7 separate regions of the Homo sapiens genome follow, and regions 2, 3, 4, 5, 6 and 7 are each linked to region 1. The links are contacts of gene promoters, found by promoter capture Hi-C in blood cells and fetal thymus (Javierre and others, 2016). All regions are on one chromosome and are shown on one strand. Each heading gives the region's core, a stretch centred on a gene start or on the middle of the fragment in contact. The rest is flanking DNA. Distances are from core to core; before and after follow the strand shown. Region 1 holds the start of SNX14 (sorting nexin 14). Region 2 has its middle 3.6 kb from the start of IBTK. Region 3 overlaps IBTK (inhibitor of Bruton tyrosine kinase). Region 4 has its middle 5.7 kb from the start of RNGTT. Region 5 overlaps RNGTT (RNA guanylyltransferase and 5'-phosphatase). Region 6 overlaps IBTK (inhibitor of Bruton tyrosine kinase). Region 7 overlaps PNRC1 (proline rich nuclear receptor coactivator 1).

Region 1 (3,359 bases), core at 120-2,619:
AAATCTGGTGTTAATTTTAATGGAAAAGTCTCCTCTACTACCTATTGCATCGCAACAATTTCTTGAAATAGTAAAATGAAGTAAAACAAGTTTATTTCGGGGGCAGAATCTTCTGATTTCAAAATGTCAATTGAATTTATCAATTTTAACCTTTCGGAATATTTCAGGTTTTTTTGGGGAGGGTGGCATCAAGTCCTCTTAAGAATATTATAGGGATGTGGCCGGGTGCGGTGGCTCACGCCTGTAATCCCAGCACTTCGGGAGGCCGAGGCAGGCGGCTCACGAGGTCAGGAGATCGAGACCATCCTGGCTAAAACGGTGAAACCCCGTCTCTACTAAAAAAAAAAAAAAAAAATACAAAAAAATTAGCGTGGTAGCGTGGTGGCGTGGTGGCGGGCGCCTGTAGCCCCAGCTACTCGGGAGGCTGAGGCAGGAGAATGGCGTGAACCCGGGAGGAGGAGCTTGCGGTGAGCCGAGACCGCACCACTGCACTCCAGCCTGGGTGACAGAGCGAGACTCCGTCTCAAAAATAAAAAATTCTAAGGATGTTGGGACGGGTACCACTTTGCTTTCTGATTTCTGTCCAACAAATCTTTATGATCGTCTGTTTTATTCAACAATACTGCGGGAAAAGCTTCAGCTGCAAGCTGAGGGGGTGGGAGGTGGGGAGATGGAAGAACGCGCTGCAGGTGTGCGGATTCTGCCTAAAATTGCGGCTACGAACTGGACCTTGAACACTCCTCCGTCAGCTGACTTGACTGCCTGTGTACAGTCTCAATTTGAGCCGACACACGGATTTCACTTTTGAAAAGCAACGAAGATGAAGAACTCGTTTTGAGAAATGGATGAGAAAAAGGTAGCTCAGGAGACGAAGCCTCGGGAAAGGAGGCAATCAACCCCACCCCACCGGCCTGTGCTTCCGGCCTCGACGCTCCGCCGTGCTCCCCGAGGCCGCTCCTCTGCGGAGCTCGCTCTCCCCACTGGTCCCCAGTCCCGCAGCTACGCGGCCTCCGCACGGTTAAGCAGCACGGGCCGGGCGTCTGCACCTTCGGAGAAAAGCCGCCGCCCAGGCTCCGCGCTGCGGCGTTACCTGTTAAGAAGCAGGGAGGCGGCGCTGAGACAGAGCAGCAGGAAGCAGAACAGCGGGTACTGGCGGCAGATCTCGCGTCCCACGTCCAGTCGCAGCCGCTGCTTCAGCTTCTGCCCCATCGTCCGCACCCAGGGCACCATCTCCGTAACGGCGAGGCCGAGACTGCGCTACTGGCTGAGGCAGAGGTCAAGGCGACCCCCCATCCACACCTCGCGTCCCCGCCCCACCGACTTGGCGGCGCACACAGACGCCTACCGGCAGTTAGCCGCCGCAGGCTGAGGTCGCGTCCGGCTGGGCCCAGCCCCACGCCCCCCGCCGCGCGTGCGCGGCCGCGGTCCCCAGCCGACCAGAGGAACGGCCGTAGAACGTGCCCGAAGTCGTCACCCAGCGCAAAGCCTCTAGCGTCTCGCCGCTCCGCCCTCCTGGCCGGAGTAGCGCGCAGTCTTCCGTGGAAACTCTGACAACACTGGCGACCGGCCATTTCCGGAAATCAAAGGACAGCCCCAGCACCCAGTAACTGCCTGTATTGCGGAGGAGAGGGAAGAAGGTTGTAGGGAGCCCGGAAGAAACTACAGCACCCCCGTAGCCGCCGGGCGCTGCCTGAGGGGCAACCGGAGCTCGTGGAGCCCGCTGGGAACTGTAGTCTTCGTGACACGAACCCGCAGAGGGATGGAGCGGGTGGTAGCGCTTCCCCGACCCCGCAACGCTCCGCGCCTCACCGTACACTCGGCTCCGGGTGGGAGCAGGTCCGAGCTTTGCGTGACGCCTAAGGGAGAGGGGGATAGGAGGACGCCTTTGAGTCGGTATTTTAAAAGGGGTGTGTTGGGGGCTGGGGGGGTGGCGAGTAAAACAGCCCTAGAATAAAGACTACAACTCATCAGGCCGCCACCCCACCAACAAAATCTCTTTTGCGCGCTCACGGGCAAGGGTAGAGCTCAATTCACGCCGGCTCCGGGAGCCCAACCAAAATCCGAGTGCTTGGAAGAGGCAGGTTGGCAGATTAGGTAAAATCCCTCTTATAGAGTCTCATGGGGTTTTCCCTTTACTAATTCATCACATTTCTAAATTTTTTTTTCTGTATTGTCCGCTACAGTGAGAGATGCAGGAAGACTATTATCGCGAAAATTTACTTAGGCGGTACAGACACTAAGCACTTTCATTTGACCTTCATGCATTCACCCCATGGTGTAGGTACAGTACTATAGTTTCAATCATTATACAGGCAAATTACTGAGACAGAAAGGAACTTAGGATCATAAAACTAACAAAGCCGGAATTTGAACACGTTCTAAAGACAGAGCCTGTGCCTGTCATCTCTCTTTCCTAGGATCTTATCCTTCAAAGTGGGGAAACAAATGTTTTTTAATGATGTATGTAGTTTCATGAATATTTTCCCGTATTACAAAAACATGGATCTTTAATGATGCATTATTATCCTTTATCAGAATGTACCATCCTGTTCCATTATTGCTAACCACTAAAGTCCATTGATATTACCATCCTTGATGATAAACCTATGCACATTTCTAATTATTTAGAATCAACTTTAATACAATTACTGGGTCAAAGGGTAAAAACAAACATTCTTGATACAGTCAAACTGCTTTGTAGAATGGTGGTACCAACTCCACAGTGGTGTATAAAAGTAAACAATTTCACTGATCCTCACGATTAGCTATTATTGTCTAAACATCACAAATACACTTTTCTGTTTGTGACTAAACCATTTAAAAGACTACAGTGTAACATCATTGGAAAGCTTACCATTTTTTAATATTTCTAGGTACATATTTAAACATTTATTAATTTCACTTTGGCAGTTTTTAAGTATCTTTATCTGTTAATACTAAAATAGGTGTATGTTGAGTGGATCTACATGTATCAAGTGCCTCCTATGGACTTGAGTGCTTTACACTTTTGTAAATTACCTTTTAAAAAACTAATCTCATGACAAATAATGTAAGTTATTAACCTGCCTGGTAAATTATGTTGCCTTTTGTTTAAAACTTTTGCTTCCTTTTAAAGCCTTATTTTGAAATTACTCTTTTCACCAAGAGCCAGTATATTTTAAAGACAAAATGTTTTGAGTTCTGTTCAAAACAGACATCACTACAACATCCAATTAAAAGACTTCTTTCCCATCTGATTTCTTAGAGGCAATTAGAATAAGTTAACTGGACAATAGATAATTTAAATTTCCAAATTGCTCTTATGATTAGAAAAGGAAAAAAAATATAATAAACTTCAGCCATAAGGAAATTCTTTATGG
Region 2 (3,134 bases), core at 160-2,659, 3.3 Mb before region 1:
GCAGTGAGTCAAGATCACGCCGCTGCAACGAGTCAAGATAACGCCACTGCACTCCAGCCTAGGCAACCGGAGTGAGATCCTGTCTCAAAAAATAGTAATAAATAAAAGTTAAAATTACCAGGTCTCGGACAATTTGTGGTAAGCATTGGGGATCCAACAGTGAACAAAAATACATGTAGACCCAGATATTCCCAAGCATAATAAATTGCAACGTTTATAAGTATTAATCTGATAGATTTATCTGACTTCCAAAAGATGTGACACATGAACTAAAGACTGAGCAGAAGATAACTCAGATAACTAGATAACGAGGAGATAAGTAGATGAAGCAGGAAAGAAATAACATTCCAGTCAAAGGAATGTAGAATTGCTCCCCTTTTCCCAGGAAAGTTAGATGCTTTCAAAAGTACTTACTGGTTATTTGCAAGACAAAATATTAAAATAATTAGGAAATAGTACAAATGAAATACAATTAAATGAAAAATATATTGTAGATGTGGTTAAGGGAGGAAGAAATCAAAATGAGCCATTTTGTTTGATTTTTAAAAAAATTTTGTGTTTACACATGAAAGAATAGGTCAAAATATATCTACAATGATTGTTTCTATGGTGGGATTATGGGTGATTCTTAATTTCTATCATTTTGACTTTTGTAATTTTCATTGCAATAATTTAAATATTACTTGAATGATTAAAAAAATCAAAGTTTGGAAAAATAATTGACTAGAGTTTCTAAAGTAGTTTTATTTTTTAAAGTAAAAAATAAAAAAACCAGAGATGACTTTAAAAGATTGCAGTGATGGGCCAGGCACAGTGGCTCATGCCTGTAATCCCAGGAGGCCGAGGCAGGCAGATCACGAGGTCAGCAGATCGAGACCATCCTGGCTAACACGGTGAAACCCCATCTCTACTAAAGAATACAAAAAAAATTAGCCGGGCGCAGTGGCGGGCACCTGTAGTCCCAGCTACTCGGGAGGCTGAGGCAGGAGAATGGCGTGAACCTGGGAGGTGGAGATTGCAGTGGGCCAAGATAGCGCCACTGCACTCCGGCCTGGGTGAAAGAGCGAGACTCTGTCTCAATAAATAAATAAATAAATAAAAAGATTGCAGTGATGGGCGGAGGGAGTAGAAAAAGAATAGTACAGGCATCAAGAGTGGAGCACTGCAGAAATATTTCTAAGCCACATGGCATCTATAATAAACTCCCTAAATACCATTTTTCCAAAATAAATTGGTAGTACTATCCTTTATAATTAAAAGTACTGACATCATTATGTGTATTTTGCTGTCTTTCAAGTTGTATAGGAGTAGGAAATGACAGTGCTGGTGGCAGAAGAGAAAACACTAGAATTTGATTAGAAACCCAAACCTGATTAGGTTCTACAAGAATGATTTTTAGAGGAAGATCAATAGTGCAGCTGGCCTAGAGATGACTGGAACCTTATTGTTTAGCCTCATTCTCTTCTACTCCACACCATCTTCTACAGGACATCACTGGTTGACTACAACTTTCTGGCACACAAATTAAGTACCTCACATAAATCACATATCTCACCTCAGGTTTGCCATTAGGGAAGATAGCACTGAGCCTATTATCTCAAGCACAAAAGTTCTAGGCACCTGACGGACTCATGTCGGCTTGGATTAGGTGAGGAATCAAGGATAACATGATTGACATCCTCTATTAGAGTCATGGTTAAAGCAGAGTGAAGAGTAGTTCCCCAAAAGAAAGCAGGGTGAGGCAGACAAAACAATAGGCCACATAGGGTGTTTGTGTTCTTCTGGATTCAGGTGTATGGTCCCAGCTGCGTTCTTCCTATAGAATCATTATCTTTCCAATCCTTACTTACAGAGGGTCACCTCCCCACATATCTGTGAAGACTTTCCGGATGGCCTTTCCTAGCAATTATTCCCTTTATACTGCTTCTATCACTTAGTCATATAATGTATCACACTGTTTTATTTTTAGATTTGTTAGTTTTACTCCTGGAGACAAGGATTCTAGAGGCAAGGTGCCCAGATATAAAGTTTTACTCCTATGCTTACTATCTGTGAGATGTCAGGCAAGTTACATAAACCCTCTAAGCCTAGTTTCCTCATCTCTGAAATAGGGTTAATAGTATTGCTTTCATAAAGTTCTTAAGAAGTTTAAATGAGATTTTATATATATATATAATATAATGTATATATTATATATATGAAGCTCTTAGTACAACTCTTAGCAACTTAATTGACATAACCTGAAATGAACTGCCTGGATGAATCTGTTTCCACCAAATTAAAGGGTGGGATGGGGAAACAAAGAATAACCCACAAGGTGGCAGTATTTGAATGTAACTTTAGAATCTTATGTTTAAAAGCATAGTCCACCAAAAAAATCTGAAATTCAAGGCAAATACTGGAGAAATTCAAGGTAAATTCAAAGCCTAGATGAAATAAGCAGAACTTTGAGATAAATCAAACTTATAAACTTAACAGGCTTAGTATTCTATTACAATCAGAACACTGAACTCCTAAAAGTCTTCCCTTTACGATGACTGAAAAATGTATCATTTGCCTTTCTCAGCCCATCTTACTGAGAATTGCTCCTATTCCTTTTCTACTTAGCTAAATAATTAAATCTGTGTTGTCACTATTAGAAAGAGAGAGAGAGAAGAAAGAAAAAGAGTGAGTTTGATACATAGTGGTTGGAGCCTTCTCTTCATGCCATAAATCCCTAGGACTGATAGAAAAGACATACTTAGGCCGGGTGTGGGGGCTCACACCTGTAATCCTAGCATTTTGGGAGGCCAAGGCAGGCAGATCACCTAAGGTCAGGAGTTTGAGACCAGCCTGGCCAACATGGTACAACCCCATCTCTATTAAAAATACAAAAATTAGCCGGGCATGGTGGCAGACACCTATAATCCCAGCTACTCGGGAGGTTGAGGCAGGAGAATCACTTCAACCAGGGAGATGGAGGTTGCAATGAGCCAAGATCACACCACTGTACTGCAGCCTGGGCGACAAGAGCAAAACTCTGTCTCAAAAAAAAAAAAAAGAAAAGAAAACATACTTAACATACTTAAACTTATCAGTGCATTGGAAAACAAGAACCTTGGCCATTGAAGGTCCAGAACTTATGAAGAGTCCTT
Region 3 (3,190 bases), core at 292-2,791, 3.4 Mb before region 1:
GTATAATATAGAATCAGCCCCTTTTCAATAACAAATGGGGCTCTCTATATAACTGGTACTCAATTAATATTCCCATACTTGCTTTCTCTTCCCTGACTGAAATTTATACTGATTTCTTTCCTTCAAACCTACCCACTGTGCTTGCTTCACCCTCATTCTGTGGTAAATAAAATCCCTTAGATCCTTAATACCTTCACAAAACACGCCCACTGCCTTGCCTTACCTGAAATGTGGCTTTCTCTTTGAGTACACTAGTTCACTCACAACCCTGGCAAATGGAATATGCTCAAATATTCCAAACTATATATTTCTTTGGATCAGACATTTCAATCACCCTCTGATTTCCTAATGCCATCATGATTCCCTCACTCTTGTCTTTAAAATCCCTGCTCCGTAACAGCTCATGAAATAAAGGTATATCATGTACTACCTCAAAAAAGGAAAAACAGGTGTCTTTCTTGTGCCACAATTCCAATCAATCATTAGTGGCTGCTAATGGTTGGATTATCATTTTAAGGAGGAGTCTGAGGACCCACTCAAGCTCAGCATGAGAAAAAAAAAACTGACTAGCATGTCTGCAAAAAGCTCTAGACTAGGTGAGCAGCTTGTACACTTGCTGCCCCTGCTCTGATTTCTCACCATCTTGCTCACCCCTCTCACATTCACTAAAGACTTGGACACCAAGCTTGATTCTCGCCCATCACAAGTCCTTTCATTATCCTAAGTTCCCTCCACATCTACAGAGAAGACCCACAAGAATATTAGCTTTCATGACACCATTCTACTCCCTACTTCTCTAGCCACTTTTCATTCCTATATGGGTTTTTATTCCTGTTCTCTCAAAATTTAATATTCTCTAGAGTTTAAGGATTCTATTGCTTTTTTTGTTCAATTGCTGGTTGTGATGCATTAGGTTGTGACTTTTAGTTTAAAAAATAGTGTTCTATGGAGCCCTAAATATAGTGGTCATATTATTTATCATGCAAACATTTTTGAGAATGAAAGGGGATACTAACAATTACACTAGGAAAATAATCATAAACCAGAACTGTCCTGGGCAAACTAGGGATATGTTGTCAAAGTAGCTCTAAAAACTGTCTAAGAATTCAATCTCAGGATATAAACTAAGTGTTGTTATGTATGTCATATATAAATAATAGGTGAAAGTTGGAAAGAGCCAGTACTATAGTGATAAAAACACTCCAAGCTCATATTCTGGATCAAAGAAGTTTTATGAACTTCAAAATGCAGAAAGAATATAACTAGGAAGTTGTAGGAAATGTAAGTTGAAATGGTAATTTAGGAAGACTGAAAAAGTTCTTACATTCCAAGCCACAGAGTTTGGACTTTATCCAAAGGTGACTTAGTAGATAAACACATAATTAGCTCTTTTTTAAGACAAATAATTCTGGAGAAGAATATTATTGGGGTTGAAATGAATGGAGCCAAAAAGTCAAATTAGGACACTGTTGTCACTGTCCAAAAAAAGAGCTTGAAAAGGACATGGCACCTAGGTTCATGAGACAGAAAAGAACTAAATAGACATGCTCTGAGGTATCATCTTCAGGATTTAGAATTTGAGATTTATAACATTAAAAATTGAATAGGGTAGTTTAGGAGTGGCAAAAATAACACTTCAGACATTCTAAATTTAAATATCTTGAAAGAATACCCACAGTACAACTGAAATAAAGTTCAAGAGAAAGACTGGGGCTAGAGATACACATACATACACACATATACACAATGTAATACAGAAAGATTTGTCAACAGTAGCTGTATCTGGGGAAGTAGAAGATATCATGCATTGTAAGGATATAAGACCACAGACCAAATCTTTACAATTGTATCTATTAAAATTTTACAATTACTTACATTTAAGAACTCAGGTTCACAAAAAGCATCACTCGTGCCTAAGCATCTAAGGGCAAATTTTTGAACCCCACACTTCCAAAACATTGCTTATCTGTCTCCATAAGTGATGAAATTTTAGTTCTATCTACTATCCAAACTGAGAACTGAGACTTAGACATTTAATTATTTATTGCTTGTCAGTGTGAATACAAATAATTAAATAGAATGACTGGCAGTTTACCAGACCCTCAGTTAAAAAACTCTATAGCCTTTCCAGACTGCTGTCATCCAACTTCACATAAGATTAAACATATTCTCTTCATGATAAATAGCTTGGAACCTAAAAACATTATTTTGTTACAAAAAATTGCAAGAAGTGTGTTGTTTTCTAAATTGAAATTATTTTATTTTTTAATGCCACCAAAAAAAAAAGAACTGTTGTTCACTTATCAAAAATAACACTGAGCTTCAACAACAAATTCACTTGAGAAACAGCTTACAGAATTGTAATGTTTGTTAAATAGAAAAGCTAGAAAATCAAGAGAAGCTTTACCCTCTTAAATTAAACTACTATCTGTATAACATTTTCTAATTTCTAACACTAATTGCACAAATATCTTATATTTTAGGGTATTTTACAAAGTCTAAATATAATTAAGGCTAACAATATCTAAAATAAAATTAGCAAAGTTCTATTGATTGATTTCCTCATTAAAATGTTACTGTACCTGAAACAAAGTTATGTAATCCACATGAAAAGCTGAACAATCAAATACAAAAGTTCTTTCTCATCTCTAAAAGTATATAGATTGTACTTCAAAAATACCTGCTTGATATAAATCCCACTCCTGGAGAACAGATCCACCAACTCTGGATGATGTTTGCTATTCTGGCTTCCATGACCCAGGGTAAAATTTGTATTATCGCCCCAAGTATAAACATCTGTAGGATCTAAAATAAAAATTAGTTTTTATACTTTTTTATATTTTAAAACACATATAAGAACTAATTTAACTACAATATTTAGAAAGATGCCAACGCTCTTCTCTGAATGAATATATTAATATGATATTAGGTAATTCTAGAAATAGAAAATCCAAATCATAGTACAGGCCTGTCTCAATGCAAGCAATCAAACATTTGTTCCTTGCTTCTTTTTTTTTTGTTGTTGTTTTTTTTTAATAATTGAGACAAGGTCTCATTATGTTGCCCAGACTGGTCTTCACCTCACGGGCTCAAGTGATCCTCCCACCTCGGCCCCCCAAAGTGCTAGGATTACAGGCATAAGCCACTCTGCCCAGGCTGTTTCTTGTTTCTTTAGCAGCTAAAGTTTAAC
Region 4 (3,394 bases), core at 58-2,557, 3.4 Mb after region 1:
CATATGGAACTAACCATGTCATTAATTATGCTAGAAGGAGTCAAAACTTCGCTGCACCTGGCACACAATTAAAACAACTTACCAGGTTTTACATTAAAGTTAAAATTGCTAGGAGTTACCATTATAATGTATAATTGAAACTACTGAAAATAGATTTACATGCAAGGTGTGTAAGAACAGTAAAATGTGTTTTTTAGTAAAAGGTAATGGAAGGCATGGAAATGTAAATTTTTGCCTAGGGTTAGGGAATTGTTTTAAATTAGGTAAGATAAAGCTAAAGGTTTAAACAAGTTCTGGAAGGTTAAAATTAATCTTGCAAAAGAAATGCTGTGTGTGAACATTGGCTAAATTCAAAAGTAAATTGAGCATTGAAATAAAAGCACAACAAAGTTTTCTTAAGGCACTAATCTGCACTTTAGCAAAATTTGTAAAGGGTTATAAAAAGTTTTTGCTTCTTTAAAATTTCTGAGTAATTTTGGCAAAATAAATAATTTATGGAAATCTGGAATTCTATTTCATAACATCAAGTGTTTTAAACCACTAACATATTTAACAGGCTTCCCAAAAATCAAACTTCAGTTTCAAAATTGTCTTTCCTGACACCTGGCTTTTCAGAGGCTCCAGAAGGACCCTAGAGTGTCCAGAAGAGAAATGTAAACAGGATTAGTTGACATGTTTAGGTATGTGGGATTGCCAAAATAATGTTCAGTTTTCTTTTTTTCTTTTCTTTTTTTTTTTTTTTTTTTTTTGAGACAGAGTCTCACTCTGTAACCAGGCTGGAGTGCAGTGACACGATCTCAGCTTACTGCAACCTCCGCCTCCTAGGTTCAAGTGATTTTCCTGCCTCAGCCTCCCAAGTAGCTGAGATTATAGGCACCCACCACCATGCCCAGCTAATTTTTTTGTATTTTAGTAGAGACAGAGTTTTGCCATTTTGGCCAGGCTGGTCTTGAACTCCTGACCTCAGGCGATCTACCCTCCTCAGCCTCCCAAAGTGCTGGGATTACAGGCATGAGCCACTGCACCCGGCCCAGTTTTCTTTAGGTTATATTATTGTGAATAATACTAATATATGTTCCAAAATTGTATGGGATTTCTAAAATTCTAATGTCTGAGATAACCAAACTTCTTTGTCAATTGTGTTTCTAACTGTAACTACCCTGGACATTTTGTTATTCACAGACAATTGTTGTCTTGTTTTAATCCTTTTCAAAAGATGATTTATAATGAGCTATAGAACGTTAACAGGTGCTCTCAAATACCAATTTCTGATGACTTTGGAGATTGTAACAAAAGGAAAAATGTACAAGACTCACAAAGAGCTGAAATGTTCATGAATATCAAGCAAATCAAGAACTAAATTGACTGAACTCAGAAAGCTGAAGCAATCTTTTTGACTTTTGCTTAGAATATTGCTGACCCTTATTTTTCAGAGTCAAGGAAACTTACTTTGAACTATTTACACCCTTTAATAATTGAGTAAGGTATACTCCTGTGAACAAAATTTGGAGTATCGGGGGAACCCACCCCCAGTATTTCAATGAAGGTGCTTTCTATTTTCCCTAAGTGTCGGCCAGTCTGAGAAATAAAGAGAAAGAGTACAAAGAGAGGAATTTTACAGCTGGGCCACCAGGGGCGACATCACATACCGGTAGGTCCATGATGCCCACCTGAGCCGCAAAACCAGCAGGTTTTTATTAAGGACTTCAAAAGGGGAGGGGGTGTATGAACAGGGAGTAGGTCACAAAGATCACATGCTTCAAAGGGCAAAAAGGAGAACAAAGATCATATGCTTCTAGGCCAATAAATATCACGAGGCAAAGGGCAAAGCAAAGACCACAAGGCAAAGGGCAAAATCAAAAACTCCTGATAAGGTTCTATGTTCAGCTGTGCACATATTGTCTTGATAAATATCTTAAACAACAGAAAACAGGATTCAAGAGCAGAGAACCAGTCTGACCTCAAATTTACCAGGGCAGGGTTTCCCAATCCTAGTAAGCCTGAGGGTACTGCAGGAGACCAGGGCATATTTTAGTCCTTATCTCAACTGCATAAGACAGACACTCCCAGAGCAGCTGTTTATAGACTTCTCCCACCAGGAATGTATTCCTTTCCCAGGTTCTTAATTATTAATATTCCTTGCTAGGAAAAGAATTCAGCGATATCTTCCCTACTTGCTTGTCCGTTTATAGGCTCTCTGCAAGAAGAAAAATATGGCTCTATTCTGCCCTACCCAGCAGGCAGTCAGACCTTATGGTGTCTTCCCTTGTTCCCTGAAAATCACTGTTATTCTGTTCTTTTTCAAGGTGTACTGATTTCATATTGTTCAAACACACATTTTACAATCAATTTGTACAGTTTGACACAATAGTGGTCTTGAAGTGACGTACATTCTCAGCTTATGAAGATAATAGGAATAAGAGACTAAAGTAAGACAGGCATAAGAAATTATAAGAGTTTTATTAGGGAAGTGATAAATGTCCATATTAAAATGAAATCTTCACAGTTTATGTTCAGAGATTGAAGTAAAGACAGGCATAAGAAATTATAAAAGTATTAATTTTGGGAACCGATATATGTCCATATTAAAATGAAATCTTCACAATTTATGTTCCTGTACTGCGGCTCCAGCCAGTCCCTCTGTTCGGGGTCCCTGACTTCCCGCAACATTGGAGCATATTTGTCTCTCTGCCTGGCTTCTCCAGAATTTGGAAACTATCTGTGAGTATTCTTAACTTATGGCAATATAGTTGTTTGCATCAGCGCAGTAAGAATCCATTTTTCTTTTGCAACAGGACACAGTTGGAGAAACTGGTTATTCTACCAAGGCTTTGACTGAAGGGTATGCTTCTCTTTCAGGAGTCAGTCTCAACTTGCAGAGCCAATAAAAGCCCCTTGGGGAAAAAAAAATGGCCTCATATCCTTGTCTACGCAGTCCCTGTACAGGGTTCCTGACCTGTGGTCAGTAAAGAATGTCACTTTCTAACAGGCCTAGGGGCTCCAAGTTTATCTTAGGACTTTAAAAGGAGAGGATCACTCAACTCACAGGTATTTAAGGATACAAACCCAAGGCTGGGCTCAGCTTTAAAAGGCCTTCTCTGAGATTCCTTGTAAAACAGATTTCTATCAAAGCCAATCCAAAAGGCCTGTATAGGAATAATTACTCTTGCTGCACTTTATGCAGGCCAAGTATAAGACTAAAGTCTATTTTGCAAACAACTCAGTCCTACCATAATTTTTTTTAACAAAAATGAGGACTGGAGAGAGAGAAATTATGCTTCAAAACTTATCATACATTTGTCATTAAATTATAAACTCATTAGTTGTCTGTAAGTTTTTGCCTACATTTTAAACTAACCCTGCTTGTTCCTGTGAACCAACCAGCAATCTCTGG
Region 5 (3,404 bases), core at 830-3,329, 3.4 Mb after region 1:
TCAACAGAATTTGAAATGTTTATTATAACCCTCATGGATGACTTTGAGGAGTTCAAGACTTCAGTGGAATAAGTAACTGCAGATGTAGTGGAAATAGCAAAAGAACTAGAATTAGAAGTGGAGCCTGAAAGTTAGCCAGGCATAGTAGCACACACCTGTAGTCCCAGCTACTCAGGAGGCGGGGATGGGAGAATCGCTTGAACCCAGGAGTTCGAGGCGGCAGTGAGCCATGATCATGCCATTGCATTCCAACCTGGAGGACACAGTGAGATACTGTCTCAAAAAAATATAAATAAATAACTGTTTTTGGTTTTTTTTTTTTTTTGAGACAGGGTCTTACTCTGTCACTCAGGCTGAAATACAGTGGCGCGACCTTGGCTCACTGCAATCTCCATCTCCCGGGTTCGAGTGATTCTCCTGCCTCAGCCTCATGAGTAGCTGGGTTTACAGGTGCCTGCCACCATGCCCAGCTAATTTTTATACTTTTAGTAGAGATGCAGTTTCACCATGTTGGCTAGGCTGGTTTTGAACTCCTGACCTCAGGTGATCCGCCTGCCTCGGCCTCCCAGAGTGCTAGGATTATAGGTGTGAGCCACCGCACCTGGCCAATACAAACATTTTTTAAAGTGGAGCCTGAAGACGTGACCAAATTGCTGCAATCTCATGATAAAACTTTAACAGATGAGGAGTTGCTTCTTACAAATGAGCAAAGTGGTTTCCTGATATGGAATCTAGCCCCAGTTAAGATGTGAATATTGCTGAAGTGACAACAAAGGATTTAGAATATTACATAAACTTGATTGATAAAGCAGCAGCAGGGTTGGGGAGAATTGACTCCACCCCTGAAGAAAGTTCTACCATGGCTAAAGAAAGTTCTACCATGGCTAAAATGCTACAGAGAAATCTTTCATGAAGAGTCAATCTATGTAGCAAACTTCATTGCTCTCTGATTTCAAGAACTTGCCACAGCCAAACAGATCCGTTGAAAGAAGCCAGACAGTGCTGTAAATTCCACGAGACAGGCGAAAAACCATGAGCTCCCAAAGTGTGAGAGGGGGGATAAAACCTGCCTCTGAACACACATTCCCCATTGGGGAATCTGAAAATCCAGATCACAGGAGAAGGATTTAATCTTACCTACAGCTGAAATGGATTTAGAGAGCCGAGTGAAATATAAAAGTAGAAGCAGCAGCAGGAAGAGCCTTGTAGGCACTCCCAGTCTCCAGCTCAAGCCCAGGGAAGCCATTCCTGACTACATCTCACAGGGGCCCTCGGGGAAAGCAGACAGCAGAATTAGGGAGGGTCATGGGGGGAAAAAAGCTTCCAAATGAAACTCATAATAATTTTGACCAGGCATGAATTTTCTTAAGCAGAATCCAGGGAATGAACGGGAACTGCTGCAGATATGAGCACAAAAGCTGCCCAGTGGGCAGACAGGGAGGCAGACAGGGAGGGGTAGGGCCTGAAAGCCATGCTCGCTTTCTCAGTGGGGAAACTTACATTCAGGGGCAAGGTCTGAGGAGTGAGGGGGTGCACCACAGAAGTAAGACCAGCCTCACCAACTGCATGGGAGCTGGGTGAAGCCTTTCATTACCAGCTATCCCCCACTTCCCTGGCAAACTATATGACACAGCAGAGGCAGCCATAATCCTCTCTGGAACATAACCTGTTGGCCCAAGAACCACCCCCCATCCCCTACAGTGGCTACAGCAAGCCCCACCCAAGGAGAGTCTGAGCCCATATCCACCTAATCCTTCCCCTACCTGATGGTATTTCTCTACCTGCCCTGGTTGCTGAACACAAAAGACAGAAATTCTTGGGAGCTTTATGCCCCACCTATTGCCTGAGAAACCAGAATACTAACCCTGGCCAACTTAAGACAAACTTAGATCCCCCAACTAGCACCACAGCTAGTGCTCTCTTGAAAGCACCACCTCCTGGCTGAAAGCCAACTAACTCAGGCCATTACAGCAACTCATGACAAAATAATCCTGCTCCCAGGAAAGATAAAATAACAGCTAATATACCACTGCCTGCAACATCCTGGCTAACCAGAGGTCCTGAGTCTGTTCACATGACAACTTCACTACTAGCATAACCAGCATTTGAGAAAGCCGACACATTAAATATATCTACAACCAAGGACTCTCACAGAGTCTACTTACTGCCCTGCCACCCCTACCAGAGCAGGTGCTGGTATCAATGGCTGGGACACCTGAAGATGGATTACATCACAGGACTCTGCAGACATTCTTCAGCACCAGCCTTAGGGCCTGGTAACTCCACAGTGTGACTAGAACCAGAAGAGCAATAACAATCACACCAATCCAGCTCTCAGGAAGCCCCAAGCCCCATCCCTAGAGGAAGGGAGAGAGCACAACATCAAGGGATCAGCCTGTGGGACAAAAGAATCTGAACAGACGCCTTGAGTTTCAGACCTTTCCACTGAAACAGTCTACTCAAACGAGAAGGAACCAGAAAAGTGATTCTGGTAATATGATAAAACAGGGTTCTATAAAACGCCCCAAAAATCATACTAGCTCCCCAGCAATGGATCCAAACCAGGAAGAAATTTCTGAATTGCCAGATAAAGAATTCAGAAGGTTGATTATTCAGCTATTCAAGGAGATACCAGAACAAGGTGAAAATCAACTTAAAGAAATTTTAAAAAATACAAGATATGGATGAAAAATTCTCCAGAGAGAAATAGAGATCATAAAGAAAAAACAATCACAAATTCTGGAAATGAAAGACACACTTAGAGAAATACAAAATGCACTGGAAAATTTTAATAATAGACTAGAACAAGTAGAAGAAAGTACTTCAGAGCTCGAAGACAAAGCTTTCAAATTAACCCAATCAGACAAAAACAAAGAAAAAAAATTTTAAAAATGAACAAAGCCTCCAAGAAATGTGGGATTATGTTAAACAGCCAACCCTAAGAATAACTGGTGTTCCTGAGGAAGAAGAGAAACATAAAAGTTTGAAAAACTTATTTGAGGAAATAATTGAGGAAAAGTTCCCTGGCCTTGCTAGAGATCTAGACATCCAAATACAAGAAGTTCAAAGAACACCTAGGAAATTCATCACAAAAAGATCATTACCTAGGCACATAGTTATCAGGTTATCTAAAGTCAAGATGAAGGACAGAAACTTAAGAGCTGTGACACAATAGCCTCAGATAACCTATAAGGGAAAACCTAACAGATTAACAGCTGATTTCTCAGCAGAAACCTTACAAGCCAGAAGGGATTGGGGTCCCATCTTTAGTTTCCTGAAACAAAATAACTGTCAGCCAAGAATTTTGTATTCAGCAAAACTAGGCTTCATAAATGAAGGAGAGATAGTCTTTCTCAGATAAACAAATGCTGAGAGAATTGGCCACTACAAGAAATGAAAGACAC
Region 6 (3,041 bases), core at 351-2,850, 3.4 Mb before region 1:
CATTTTCATGAATATACGAGCTCCAAAAATATATGTCTTATACATCCTTTATCAGAAACCTACTGGAGTTGTGCTACATCAAAACAAGGAGTGTATCAAGAAATAGAAAACCACAGGATCAAGAAAACTGGGGATCAAACACTGGAGAGAAGGGAAGACCTGCAAGACAACAGTTAAAGAAAATCTCAAGATGACAGATATTCAGCATGCCTGGAAAAGACCCGGTTCAGATCACAAAAGAGCACAGGACTCTAAGGAATATGCCTCCAAAAAAATAAGTGAAACAACTTTCACTCGTTCACTTTTTGCTTAAGGAAAATGATTGATGGCATGCTTACAGCTATATTACCAAGTCCAAAGCTTCATCATGAGCTTAGTTAATTCTCTCAAACTGCAATTTAGTACTTGACAGTGGTTCCAATAACTTTTCCCCCTTTTTGGATTTTCCATACCTTTGTTTAAAGAAAGCACAACTCAGTATTGCAGCAGTCATATCATAAACCCTACAAGGGTAACAGTCAAATCTGTCTTGTTCATTGCCTTATCATCAGAAACTAGCACAGTCCCTTACATTTAGAAGGTGCTTAACAAATACTGATAAATTTTAAAATTCTGCTAAGCTCATCCTCTCCAGTTTTACCCTCTTTTCTCTTTTCCTTGGGTGTTCTTACCTCTTATTTTACTTTCTTTTTCAGTAACCATGCTTTGGACCTACTAATAGCCCTAACAAGCACTGATTTAGTTCCATTGGTAACATTTAGAATAAAATTATTTGCCACTTTCTTCAAAATAATTAACATTTTAATTGAGAAAAATATTCCTTCTTACAAACAGAATAATGTGGCCTTAGAAACATTGAAAGGATTCCCCTAAACCATGGGTAGCTGCCAAGATCCTCCCCAGTCCTTGTGAGAGAAAGAGAGTTCTACTGATTTCTTCGTAAGGCTTCACATTCTCCATGTAGTTCTCCAGTATTGGTTTCCAGATATTTTAAGTTACAAGAAAAGGAAGGATGGAACGGAAGCTGGAGTACAACCTATTTTACATATCTCAAAATTATATCTGACCTCTTTGGAGGTTATTCCAATGCTGCCACTATGTGTAAATTCCAATGGAGAAAATGTAAACACAACATTAAGTAAGGAGCAGTGTTTTAAAAAGTGAAAAATAACAAGCTATGATTATAACCATGTAAAGATATTTATGGAGCATGCAGAAGGACAAAGAAATTAGCGTAGTATAAATAAAGTTTTCTTTTTATATGTGTCTGATGTATTTAATTTCTTATAAAAAATAAAAATAAATTTTAAATCACTTTAGCAAGAAAATCTAATTAGAATATCAAGAAGAAATTATATCTATATATGAAAAATATATCCACATTTTGATGTGTATGATGATGTGTGTCATCATGACTTGTATGTCAAAACACCCCAAATTAAAAGAAAATAAACAACAACAAAAAAAGTGTTTGTTTCCCAAGTTCCAATTTTTAACTTGAAAACAGAAGGGGAGATAAAATACTTGAAAAGACTTTAGAAACACTGGAAGTGGGAAGGAACTCCAAAGTCAAGTACTACCTTAAAAGCAAATGCACAAATCTATATTAATTTTAATAAAAATAAGAGCATACCATGCATTCACTGGTTTGGGGGCTTTTGAAGGAGTGAATAAAACTGTTTCCATGCTATTCATTCCTGAATTGTTTTCCTTGGTAGTCAATGCAATCATTTTTCGTTGCTTCTGAGAAAGTTTAACTCCATGAGAAACTGTTTTGCTAGAAATTAAACCAATTAGTTTCAGTGGTTTCTTCTGACAAAGTTTAATTCCATGAGAAATCATTTTGCTAGAAATTATATCAATTAACATTAATTTCTGCTTAATAAAGGTTACTGGTAATAATAATGTTTTCTATTTATTTCATGTTATTTTACCATTATTGGATCAAAATGCTCACAAGTTTCAACAATGAAAATATCAGTTTATACTAACAATGATCAAGTAATAGCTACATATGAGCCCTCCAACATATCACAAATTTCAAAAAGAACTTGCATCACAAGCCTTAACTCTTTGGCTTTTGTAGCCAATAGTCCACAATGATCATTTTAGAGTCAAGTTTCTGGGATGTAATACTGTATTCTACAAGAGCTGGATTATCAACTCAACTCTATCTTTAGCACATATTTAAGAAATAATATTATGGAGGCTAAATTGCCCAGAAAAGGATGTATAATTAACTATAACATCAAATGCAGAAAAATAATAAGAAAGATGCAGTAAGTCTGTCCAATTCTTAGGGCAGAAATACAACATGAAATGATCTTTTGTAATGTTTTCAACCCACCCTAAATGTGACTTTGGTGTAGCTCCACATTTTTGTCTACTTTCTTCTATTTCCATGATAGTTCTGAGATCCACAACAGGAGGGCTGACAGGACTAAAAGACATAAAAGGTTACTTTGCAAAGCATTCATTTACCTATAAAGCCCAACCCCCAACTTCACTGAAATGATAAGTGATATGTGAGATTAATAATCAGAGTATAATTTAGATTTATCAGCTGTGAGCCAGTTTCATAAAGGATATTTTGAATAAAAGCTACTTTTATATACACATATATAAATATTAACTAATATATATCCAAAATGTTAAGTGATATAGCACATATACAAATAACAACTAATATGTATCCAAAGTCATAATGTTGTGATATAACTGAAATTCCTATATTTAAAAAAACATTTTTTAAAAAAAGTGAAGCAATAGAAAGATTCTTAACTAAATTAGGCAGAAAAACTCACCAAAGTTCTAATTAAATTCTTACCTTTAGGTTAAATGAAGCTTGAAAATTACATTCTTTCCTTTCTATTTTTAACAAACAAAACTCATTCTACTGTTTAATATTAACAAAAACAAACATTTAATAGAAAAACTTGGGGATACTAAATAATATTGGAGACCCACCAGAGGAAGTTATACCATAATGACAAAATTCTACAATCATTAGAAATAGATGATTTCTGGCCAGGTGTGGTGGC
Region 7 (3,067 bases), core at 49-2,548, 3.5 Mb after region 1:
GGAGGTACTTGTGCAGGTTTGCTACATGGGTATATTTCGTGATGCTGAGGTTTGGAGTATGAATGATCCCATTCCAGGTAGTGAGCATAGTACCCAGTAGGTCCCCATCTCTCTCTCAACCCCCCTTCTAGTAGTGCCTAGTGTCTGTTGTTGTTCCCCACTATATCCATGTTGTACCCAGTGTTTAGCTCCCAAATTCACTTGTAAGTGAGAACTTGCGATATTTGGTTTTCTGTTTCTGCATTAATTCGTCTAGGGTAATGGCCCCCAGCTACATACGTGTTGTCACAAAGAACATAATTTTGTTCTTTTCTATGGCTGTGGGCAAACTTAAACACAACAAAACTAGATATGTGATATGAGGTTCATAACTGATTTTTATCTAGAAACTATATTTACTTTTGTGTTCTTGTCTTTGTAGGTTTTAAAATCAAAGATGGGAAAATCGGAGAAAATTGCCCTTCCCCATGGCCAGCTTGTTCATGGTATACACTTGTATGAGCAACCAAAGATAAACAGACAGAAAAGCAAATATAACTTGCCACTAACCAAGATCACCTCTGCAAAAAGAAATGAAAACAACTTTTGGCAGGATTCTGTTTCATCTGACAGAATTCAGAAGCAGGAAAAAAAGCCTTTTAAAAATACCGAGAACATTAAAAATTCGCATTTGAAGAAATCAGCATTTCTAACTGAAGTGAGCCAAAAGGAAAATTATGCTGGGGCAAAGTTTAGTGATCCACCTTCTCCTAGTGTTCTTCCAAAGCCTCCTAGTCACTGGATGGGAAGCACTGTTGAAAATTCCAACCAAAACAGGGAGCTGATGGCAGTACACTTAAAAACGCTCCTCAAAGTTCAAACTTAGATTTCAGATTTCAGTATGTGTGTAAAACATAATTTTTCCCATATCCCTGGACTCTTGAGAAAATTGGTACAGAAATGGAAATTTGCCTTGTTGCAACATACAATTGCAAAAGATGAGTTTAAAAAATTACATACAAACAGCTTGTATTATATTTTATATTTTGTAAATACTGTATACCATGTATTATGTGTATATTGTTCATACTTGAGAGGTATATTATAGTTTTGTTATGAAAGTATGTATTTTGCCCTGCCCACATTGCAGGTGTTTTGTATATATACAATGGATAAATTTTAAGTGTGTGCTAAGGCACATGGAAGACCGATTTTATTTGCACAAGGTACTGAGATTTTTTTCAAGAAACAGCTGTCAAATCTCAAGGTGAAGATCTAAATGTGAACAGTTTACTAATGCACTACTGAAGTTTAAATCTGTGGCACAATCAATGTAAGCATGGGGTTTGTTTCTCTAAATTGATTTGTAATCTGAAATTACTGAACAACTCCTATTCCCATTTTTGCTAAACTCAATTTCTGGTTTTGGTATATATCCATTCCAGCTTAATGCCTCTAATTTTAATGCCAACAAAATTGGTTGTAATCAAATTTTAAAATAATAATAATTTGGCCCCCCCTTTTAAAATAGTCTTGACTCTTTGTGTGTGACTGTTTCTCATGTTTGAATGTGTGACTAGGAGATGATTTTGTGTGGTTGGATTTTTTTGACTTCTACTTTACTGGCTGAGTGTGAGCCGCCATGCCTGGCCATAATCTACATTTTCTTACCAGGAGCAGCATTGAGGTTTTTGAGCATAGTACTTGACTACTCTAGAGGCTGAGACGGGAGCATCTCTTGAGCCTGAGAAGTGGAGATTGCAATTGAGCTAGGATCAGGCCACTGCACTCCAGCCTGGGTAACAGACGCTGTCTCAAAAAAAAGGCCAAGAGAAAGTAAGGGAGACAGATTTTGAGTGGGAATGTTAAGCAATCAGGTCAAGTAAAGAAGATCGAATATACAAAGGAACTTCTGTTTGATGTTTTGTGTGAGTCACCATTCCTTCCTTACAAATGCAGATACACCTTCCTCACAAATGGAAGGGAAGCTCATTTAGAAGTTTAGTTTGAAGATGCCCCCAATTTTTAGTCACCAATTTTAGCTTTTGTTAGTAATGTGTTGTAAATATTAATACTAATGACTGACTACAGTGAGTTCTGACATCTCTCCCAAATCAGTTTGTGATTCTAGAAAGGGACACATTAACAGGTTTTAACAACACATTTTTGCACATGGTTATAAAAATTCCTACACAATGTAATATAAGTCCTACCGCCTCAACCACCCTTCTTTCCTTGTCCAACATTTCTCAGCTCTTGTCATTTTGAGCAGTATGTCTGCAGTTTAATGTGTGAGGGCTTATGTGTAACGTATGTTCAGGAAATAGAAGGATAAATGGCAGAGCTGAAAGTTTAGGTGGGATGGGGAGAAAAGACAAATATAACTAAAATACAAGCTATATTCCCCACTCTACAACAACAAATGCCTGAAGAGAGAAAAAGGTAAAGTCTCTTAGGGTGAAGGGACTAATTTTGGTGAGAAAATTTTCTCTTTGGGAATCTGACACCTTAGAAAGTAACAGTGAGTTGAGCTGGGCATGGTGGCTCACGCCTGTAATCCCAGCACCTACGGAGGCTGAGGCGGATGGATCACGAGGTCAGGAGTTCAAGACTATCCTGGCCAAGATGGTAAAACCTTGTCTCTACTAAAAATAGAAAAAAATTAGTCGGGCTTGGTGGCAGGCACCTGTAATCCCAGCTACTCAGGAGGCTGAGGCAGAAAATTGCTTGAACTCGGGAGGCGGAGGTTACAGTAAGTCGAGATCGCGCCACTGCATTCCAGCCTGGGTGACAGAGCAGGACTCCATCTCAAAAAAATGAAAAAAAAAATTGAGTTGAGCCTTAAAAGATAAGTATTTGACACACAAAAAAGGAAAAAAATTGTGAGGTAAAAGTTTGAGCAGATGGTGGTGTAAAAAGATGCACAACGCTGAATCCCAGCACTTTGGGAGGCTGAGGCTGGTGGATCACCTGAGGTCAGGAGTTCGAAACCAGCCTGCCCAACATGGCGAAACCCTGTCTCTACTAAAAATACAAAAAATTAGCTGGGTGTGATGGTGGGTGCCTGTAATTCCAGCTACTTGGGAGG

The links. The method cuts DNA at HindIII sites, captures the fragments that hold promoters and counts their contacts. A CHiCAGO score of 5 or more calls a contact.
Region 2: a fragment that was not itself captured here is called in contact with the fragment with the promoter of SNX14 in region 1 in 6 of 17 cell types (total B cells, total CD8 T cells, naive CD8 T cells and 3 more); the score reaches 14.7 in total B cells.
Region 3: a fragment that was not itself captured here is called in contact with the fragment with the promoter of SNX14 in region 1 in 4 of 17 cell types (M2 macrophages, non-activated CD4 T cells, total CD8 T cells and 1 more); the score reaches 13.6 in M2 macrophages.
Region 4: a contact is called between a fragment that was not itself captured here and the fragment with the promoter of SNX14 in region 1, in 1 of 17 cell types (monocytes). The highest score is 6.2, in monocytes.
Region 5: a contact is called between a fragment that was not itself captured here and the fragment with the promoter of SNX14 in region 1, in 1 of 17 cell types (non-activated CD4 T cells). The highest score is 14.2, in non-activated CD4 T cells.
Region 6: a contact is called between a fragment that was not itself captured here and the fragment with the promoter of SNX14 in region 1, in 5 of 17 cell types (M1 macrophages, M2 macrophages, total B cells and 2 more). The highest score is 12.3, in M1 macrophages.
Region 7: a contact is called between a fragment that was not itself captured here and the fragment with the promoter of SNX14 in region 1, in 7 of 17 cell types (non-activated CD4 T cells, total B cells, naive CD8 T cells and 4 more). The highest score is 22.7, in non-activated CD4 T cells.

Annotation. Positions count from the first base shown.
Region 1 is chr6:85,592,489-85,595,847 of GRCh38, forward strand. SNX14 (sorting nexin 14) reads right to left here and starts at 1,370. Exons shown (of 29, transcript NM_153816.6): 1 at 1,091-1,370. The coding sequence starts at 1,230. RefSeq lists enhancers at 1-446, 447-1,030, 1,031-1,614, 1,063-1,232, 1,543-1,662 and a silencer at 1,293-1,512. The HindIII fragment of the contact is 2,215 bases long and covers 633-2,847 here.
Region 2 is chr6:82,249,812-82,252,945 of GRCh38, forward strand. No RefSeq gene overlaps it. Among named protein-coding and RNA genes, the nearest start is that of IBTK, 3.6 kb to the left of the region's middle. The HindIII fragment of the contact is 4,001 bases long and covers 1-3,134 here.
Region 3 is chr6:82,229,038-82,232,227 of GRCh38, forward strand. IBTK (inhibitor of Bruton tyrosine kinase) reads right to left here. Exons shown (of 29, transcript NM_015525.4): 4 at 2,681-2,805. Among named protein-coding and RNA genes, the nearest start is that of IBTK, 17 kb to the right of the region's middle. The HindIII fragment of the contact is 1,716 bases long and covers 684-2,399 here.
Region 4 is chr6:88,967,583-88,970,976 of GRCh38, forward strand. No RefSeq gene overlaps it. Among named protein-coding and RNA genes, the nearest start is that of RNGTT, 5.7 kb to the left of the region's middle. The HindIII fragment of the contact is 4,896 bases long and covers 1-3,394 here.
Region 5 is chr6:88,950,552-88,953,955 of GRCh38, forward strand. The region is part of intron 1 of RNGTT (RNA guanylyltransferase and 5'-phosphatase); the gene reads right to left. Among named protein-coding and RNA genes, the nearest start is that of RNGTT, 11 kb to the right of the region's middle. The HindIII fragment of the contact is 1,522 bases long and covers 1,319-2,840 here.
Region 6 is chr6:82,189,440-82,192,480 of GRCh38, forward strand. It overlaps IBTK (inhibitor of Bruton tyrosine kinase), which reads right to left. Exons shown (of 29, transcript NM_015525.4): 24 at 2,348-2,440; 25 at 1,634-1,777. Among named protein-coding and RNA genes, the nearest start is that of IBTK, 57 kb to the right of the region's middle. The HindIII fragment of the contact is 2,484 bases long and covers 359-2,842 here.
Region 7 is chr6:89,083,332-89,086,398 of GRCh38, forward strand. PNRC1 (proline rich nuclear receptor coactivator 1) reads left to right here. Exons shown (of 2, transcript NM_006813.3): 2 at 422-1,829. The coding sequence ends at 865. Among named protein-coding and RNA genes, the nearest start is that of PNRC1, 4.1 kb to the left of the region's middle. RefSeq lists enhancers at 1,176-1,703, 1,704-2,230. The HindIII fragment of the contact is 4,237 bases long and covers 1-3,067 here.